Linked DNA regions of Homo sapiens: region 1 is linked to region 2. The links are contacts of gene promoters, found by promoter capture Hi-C in human tissues and cell types (Jung and others, 2019). All regions are on one chromosome and are shown on one strand. The core of a region is centred on a gene start or on the middle of the fragment in contact, and the rest is flanking DNA. Distances in the headings are between cores, read along the strand shown. Region 1 holds the start of ZNF709 (zinc finger protein 709). Region 2 holds the start of EPOR (erythropoietin receptor).

Region 1 (3,380 bases), core at 88-2,587, 1.1 Mb after region 2:
CATCTCTTTCTTGCCTCTTTGGAAATATTTTACATCCACTCTAAAGGTTTATTTTATTTTATTTTTTTATTTTTTTGAGACAGAGTCTCACTCTGTCGCCGAGGCTGTAGTGCAGTGGCGCAATCTCATCTCAACTGCAACCTCTGCCTCCCGGGTTCAAGTGATTCTCCTGCCTCAGCCTCCTGAGTAGCCGTGATTACAGATGTGCACCACCACGCCCGGCTAATTTTTTATATTTTTAGTAGAGACGGGGTTTCGCCATGTTGGCTGGGCTGTAGGTCTCCTAATTACGTATATTTTACATTTTTTGAGAATCAATTAAGTGAGTAAATCTTTTCAAGGTGATAAGCCCAGGGAGGGGAAGTGCTGCGCTGGAAAGGACAGATCTCCCAGAAAAGTTTCCAAAAAGGAGACTCAACCCAAAGGAGTTCCCATAGGATGTCAGGTCCCAGGAGAGATACTGGCAAGAGAGGCACAAGCATTTTACACGAGGTAGCTTCAAGTCCTTCTCCTCTGTTTTCCTCTCATATAAATACCCCAAAGCATACGTTAAATCTTTTTAAAAGAACCATCCATTCCTCTGTACAAAAAGGATAATTAAAATACTGCGTCTGGTTGAAATAACGACGTTGTGAACTGGAGAGAAGACATTGGCATTTGAAAGAGATCTAGAAATTTAGGGATTTAATCCCAGCTCTGGGAAGAGCCAGGCTGGAGGACACGGTCGTGGGTTTGAGATCTGGCTTCCCATACACTTGGAAACCTTGAGAAACGAGTCCTCCCTTGGGAAGAAAAGAGGGACTGAGGACCCCACACAACACTGCTCCTCCCACGCACGAACCCCACGACCGAGACGGGATTCCCTCCATGACCCTCCCGTGCCCCAGCACAATCTGGGGAGACGCGAGGCTGCGGGCTCGGAGCTGCCCAGAGAGGGCTCCGGGACTGGGGCCGCAGTCGCCGCGCAGGGACTTGACAAGACGTCCGGGGTCCCGGCTGCCGGCCCAGCCCCATCCTGCGGCCAAAGAGACCGAGGGCCGAGCTGCGCCAGGAGGACTCGGGTCCACAGACCCGGGAGACAACGGCGGGGAGGCCTGGGTCCCACCACAGCCAGATCCGGCCGGTTTCAACCCGCCCCTCTCTCCCATCTCAAGACCCCCAGCCCCGCACACTTACCATTTCCCAGACTCTGGGATGTCCTGGTGTTCTGTTTACCTCTCCCGCGGCCAGCACAGGTCCTACCTCCACCTGAGGCCCTTCCTCCACCTGAGGGCCTTCTGGGGTGAGGAGACCCCAGAGCGGAGCGCAGCGGCTGGTAGCCACGCCCTCGCCGTTTGCGCAGCGCCCCTCCGCCCGCCTTCCCGGCGGCGCCCCTGATTGGACATTGCACTCTTGGACCCGCCTTCGTTGCCTGAGTGACAGCTAGTAGGGAAGTCGCGTCTCTAAGCAACCTGCATTCGTCCGGGGTCAGGAATCTGTTCCCCTGCCACGGATATTTGCGTCTAAGCAGAATTTGTTAACGTACCCGGGGTCGGGCACTGGTGTCTTCCTGCAGCTCCTTCTGAGCGCGGAGACACAAGCGTGCACAGCGCAGGAAATTCCAGGCTCAGTTTCCAGAAAAAGGCTCTTTGTCCACAGCGAAAAAGGACGCCCGGGCCATGCCAGACTAGAACGGAAGGGTCAGACGCTCCCAGACTTAGCATAAGGCTGCGAGGCCATTCATGGATTTCTGACTCTTGTTTACAAATACAGACACTTAGAGTGACAGAGTGACCTCATCATACCTAACAAAGAGTGACTACGTTTTAATCTTTGACAACTGACAGGGTTTAGGCCGTCACCCATCCCTTCCCTCCCCCCACACTTTGCTCTAGTGGGAAGTTTGGACCCCACAGCCCTAGTCTGAGAGAAGGAGTTCCTTTTTTTTTTTTTTTCGGTAGAGATGGCGGTGGTGGGGTGGTCTCACTATGTTGCACAGGCTAGTCTCGAACTCCTGGGCTCAGGTGATGCTCCTTGGCTTCCCAAAGTGTTGGGATTACAGGCATGAACCACCGTGCCCAGTGAGGAATTATTCAGTTAAACCCAAAGCCATGAGATGTGTTCAGTAAAACTGAACACTGGAAGGATATTTATTTCGGACCAGTTTTTGACTATGTCCCTAGAGAACTTTTGTGGATCCTTTATGTTTGTTTGGTTTGTGGTTTTTGTTTTTGAGACAGGGCCCTTCTTTGTCCCTCAGGCTGGAATGCAGTGGTGCAATCAGAGCCCCCTGCAGCCTCGACCTTCTGGGCTCAAGCAATCCTCCCACCTCAGCCACCTGAGTAGCTGGAACCTCAGGCACGTGCCACCATGCTTGACTAATTTCTTTCTTTCTTTTTATTTTTATTTTGTAGAAACAGCATCTCACTATCTCACCCAGGCTGATCTTGAACTCCTGGGCTCAAGTGATCTGCTGGCCTCAGCCTCCCAAAGTGTTAGGATTACAGGCATGAGCCACTGCACCCAGCCCCTAGAGAATTTTGAAATGTAAATGGCTATGATATCGATAAGGCAATTAATTCCATTTTCACTGAGATTATTTAAAAAACCACAAAAGATTATGTAAATTTGGCATGTACTAGGAAACTCAATATACTTAAGATATTGGATCAAACCTACTAATGGGCAGGGCATGATGGCTCACACCTGTAGTTCCAGCACTTTAGGAAACTTAGGTGGGAGGGCTGCTTGAGCCCAGGAGTTTGAGATCAGCCTGGGCAACATAGTGAGGCCCCCCCCTCCCCCATCTCTAAGAAAATTTTTTAAAAATTAGCAGGGCATGGTGGTGCACACCTGTAGTCCCAGCTACTGGGGAGGCTGAGGCCCGAGGATTGTTTGAACCCAGGAGGTCAAGGCTACAGTCAACTGTGATCCTGCATTCCAGCCTGGGTGACAGAGTGAGACCCTGTCAGAAGGAAGGAAGGAAGGAAGGGAGGGAGGGAAGGAAGGAAGGAGGGAAGGAGGGAAGGAGGGAAGGAGGGAAGGAGGGAAGGAGGGAAGGAAGGAAAGAAGGAAGGAAGGAAGGAAAAAAAAAGGAAACCCCTGTAGCCTTTGGCTGTCACTGTCCTATCTTCCCATCTTCCTCCTCCAAGCCTCTGTCCTAAGCAACCATTAATTTACTTTCAGTTGCTATATAGCTTTCCCATTGTAGACTTGGAATGGAATCATATACTATGTGTTCTTTGTGAGATTAACTTCATTCACTTAGCATAACTGTTTCAAGGGACATTTACATTGAAGTTTGTATCAATACTTCATTTGTTGTTTACAGTAAAACAATATTTCATTGTACCAATATAGCCCATTTTGTTTATCCATTCATCCATTAATAGGCATTTGGT
Region 2 (2,964 bases), core at 135-2,634:
CCATAGAGGGCGTGCCAGCCCTGGACCCGCAGGTTTCCCTCCAGTGACCACGACTGGAGGCGCCGTCGGGCCTCAAACAGCAGGGGACATACGAGGCTACGACCTCCAGGGAGCTCTGCCCCACCCCCTCCCTCCGCCCTTGGAGGCACCCGCCGGATCGGACTCACTCGAGCTGGTAGGAGAAGCTGTAGTTGCCCGGGCCCACCCCAGCGCTCGCCGCTTCCTCCCAGAAACACACCAAGTCCTCCAACCGCTCGGTGAAGCACAGAAGCTCTTCGGGCCCCCGGGCCGCCAGCAAGGCCGCTGGGGAGGGGCGACAAAGGAAGGGCATGGGGGTCTGAGCTCTATCCTCGGGAGACAGCCCCCTCCTCTTCCCTCCCGCAGCCTGGGCGGACCCGATAAGAAAAAAGCCCCGCCCTGCCATCTTCCCAAGCGGGTCCCTTGGAGGGGTCCGCAGAGGTGGTGCCCCCCTAATTCCCAGGGGCAAGTTTCTCGCCTTACTGTCCCCCGCCGTCACCACTGGCGCACACCTGCCCACCCAGCGGCCAGCTGAGCTGGGCGCGGCGTTCAAGACCTCGAGCTCGGGACTGCCAGCCCCGCCCCAGCCTAGGACACGCGCGCGGCTGGGGGTGTGTGCGGAGAGGCGGGCCCCCTATCGGCCCCGGCAGGCTCCCCGCCAACCGATAGCGCCAACCGTGCCCCCCGCCTCCCTCCCTCCACCGGGCCGGGCAAGTGATCTGGCGCCCTCACACAAACCGTGTTTACAGTAGCCTGTGGCTTGGCCCCTCTAACTCGGACCCGGGCTTTACCCTCCCTCCCCTAGGGAGGGTCGGCTTGGTCCCCACCCCCCAGGGACCTTAGCACCAAGTCAGCCCCCTTAGGATTTAGCATGTCCCAGACTCCCTGAAAAGGTAAAACGGGAATGTTAAGCCCACTCTAGCTCTTGCCCGGGACGCGATCAGGAGTCTTGGATCCTAACATACCCCACCCCGCCCCCCACCCATCCAGGACCCAGTCTAAGGGTTCAGATGCCAGCTTGGCCCCCAGGACCCGGTCAGGAAGTCCAGAAACAGGCATGGCCCCCAGGACCTAGGCTGGGAGTTCAGGCCCCAGCATGGTCCTGCAGGCTCCAGCGTAGGGGTCCACACGCAGCTCATCCTTACCTTTGCTCTCGAACTTGGGGTCCGGGAGGTTAGGCGGGGGCGCCCAGGCGGCCCCAGCGAGCAGGAGACAAAGGGAGCCGACCTGGGGCCAGAGGGACGCCCCGAGGTGGTCCATGATACAGCCCCCGCCACGGGGAGCCCAGGGCTCCTGCCCCTCCGTCCCCCGCCCCCGGCACAGTCCACAGCTGGGTCAGCAGCTGCCTCCGCCGGACGCAGCTGACCAGGCCCTTCCCGACCAGGCGCCTCTAAGTGGCAGATCCCCGAGGGGGCGGGGCCAGCACTCAGCCTGGGTAGAGATAAGTGCCTGGCGGGAGGAGGCAGGGGCCCTTCCCGAGCCCAGAGGCCGCTTGGGGGCAGGGGAGGGAGTTGGGCCGCAACAGCTCCCGTTCTGGCTTCAGACACACGTTTTTTTTTTCTTTGTGGCCCTGGACAGGTGACTTACCTTACCTGAGCTTCAGACTTCTCATCTGTAAAATCTAGCCTGGCACATAGCGAACATTCCAAAAAATGTACCTACTGATTTTATCGCAGAAATCAGCATCTCTTCCCAGCCTGGAAATAAATAAAAATTATTTTCTCTCTCTCTCTCTCTCTCTCTCTCTCTCTCTCTCCTTTCCTTCCTTCCTTCCTTCCTTCCTTCCTTCCTTCCTTCCTTCCTTCCTTCCCTCCTTCCCTCCTTCCCCCTCTCTCTCTCTGTCTCAGGGTGTTGCTCTGTCACCCAGGCTGGAGTGCAGTGGCACAATCATAGCTCACTGCAGCCTCTGGACTGAAGCAATCTTCCCACTGCACCTGGCTAATTTTTAAAATTCTTTGTAGAGATGGGATCCCACTATGTTGTCCAGGCTGGTCTTGAAATCCCGGACTTAAGCAATCCTCCAGCCTCCATCTCCCAATGTGCTGGGAATACCAGCACGAGCCACTGAAGCCGGCCAATAATAATCCTTGCAACGACCAGCAGTTGAGTGTTTGCACAGTGCTAGGCCATGCTCCTGGGCAGTATGCATAATATGTGAGATTTTCATTTACGAATTTTTGGGAAAAAAATTTTTACCACCCACATTTTTATTCTCTTGGGCTGGGCCCGGTGGCTCACGCCTATAATCCCAGCACTTTGGGAGGCCGACGTGGGCAAATCACTTGAGGTCAGGAGTTTGAGACCAGCCTGGCCAACATGGTGAAATCCCATCTCTACTAAAAATACAAAAATTAGCCAGGTGTGGTGGCGTGTGCCTGTAATCCCAGCTACTCAGGAGGCTGAGGCATGAGAACTGCTTCAGTCTGGGAGATGAAGATTGCAGTGAGCCAAGATCATGCCACTGCAACTCCAGCCTGGGCAACAGAGTGAGACTGCATCTCAAAAAATAATAATAATTGGCTGGGCGCGGTGGCTCATACCTGTAATCCCAACACTTTGGGAGGCCGAGACAGGCGGATCATGAGGTCAGGAGTTCGAGACCAGCCTGGGCAACATGGCGAAACCACGTCTCTACTAAAAATACAAAAATTAGCCAGGCGTAGGCCGGGCGCGGTGGCTCACGCCTGTAATCCCAGCACTTTGGGAGGCCGAGGTGGGCAGATCACGAGGTCAAGAGATCAAGACCATCCTGGCCAACATGGTAAAACCCCATCTCTACCAAAAATACAAAAATTAGATGGGCGTGGTGCTGCATGCCTGTAATCCCAGCTACTTGGGAGGCTGCAGGAGAATCGCTTGAACCCAGGAGCCGGAGGTTTCAGTGAGCCGATATTGTGCCACTGCACTCCAGCCTGGTGACAGAGCGGGACTCCGTCTCAAAAAATA

The links. The method cuts DNA at HindIII sites, captures the fragments that hold promoters and counts their contacts. A contact is called where the count stands out against the background at its distance.
Region 1: a contact is called between the fragment with the promoter of ZNF709 here and the fragment with the promoter of EPOR in region 2, in 1 of the 25 tissues and cell types used here (stomach).

What each region holds. Positions count from the first base shown.
Region 1 is chr19:12,483,479-12,486,858 of GRCh38, forward strand. ZNF709 (zinc finger protein 709) reads right to left here and starts at 1,338. Exons shown (of 4, transcript NM_152601.4): 1 at 1,177-1,338. The coding sequence starts at 1,179. The HindIII fragment of the contact is 14,294 bases long and covers 1-3,380 here.
Region 2 is chr19:11,382,930-11,385,893 of GRCh38, forward strand. EPOR (erythropoietin receptor) reads right to left here and starts at 1,385. Exons shown (of 8, transcript NM_000121.4): 1 at 1,164-1,385; 2 at 168-303. The coding sequence starts at 1,278. RefSeq lists a silencer at 625-684. The HindIII fragment of the contact is 19,405 bases long and covers 1-2,964 here.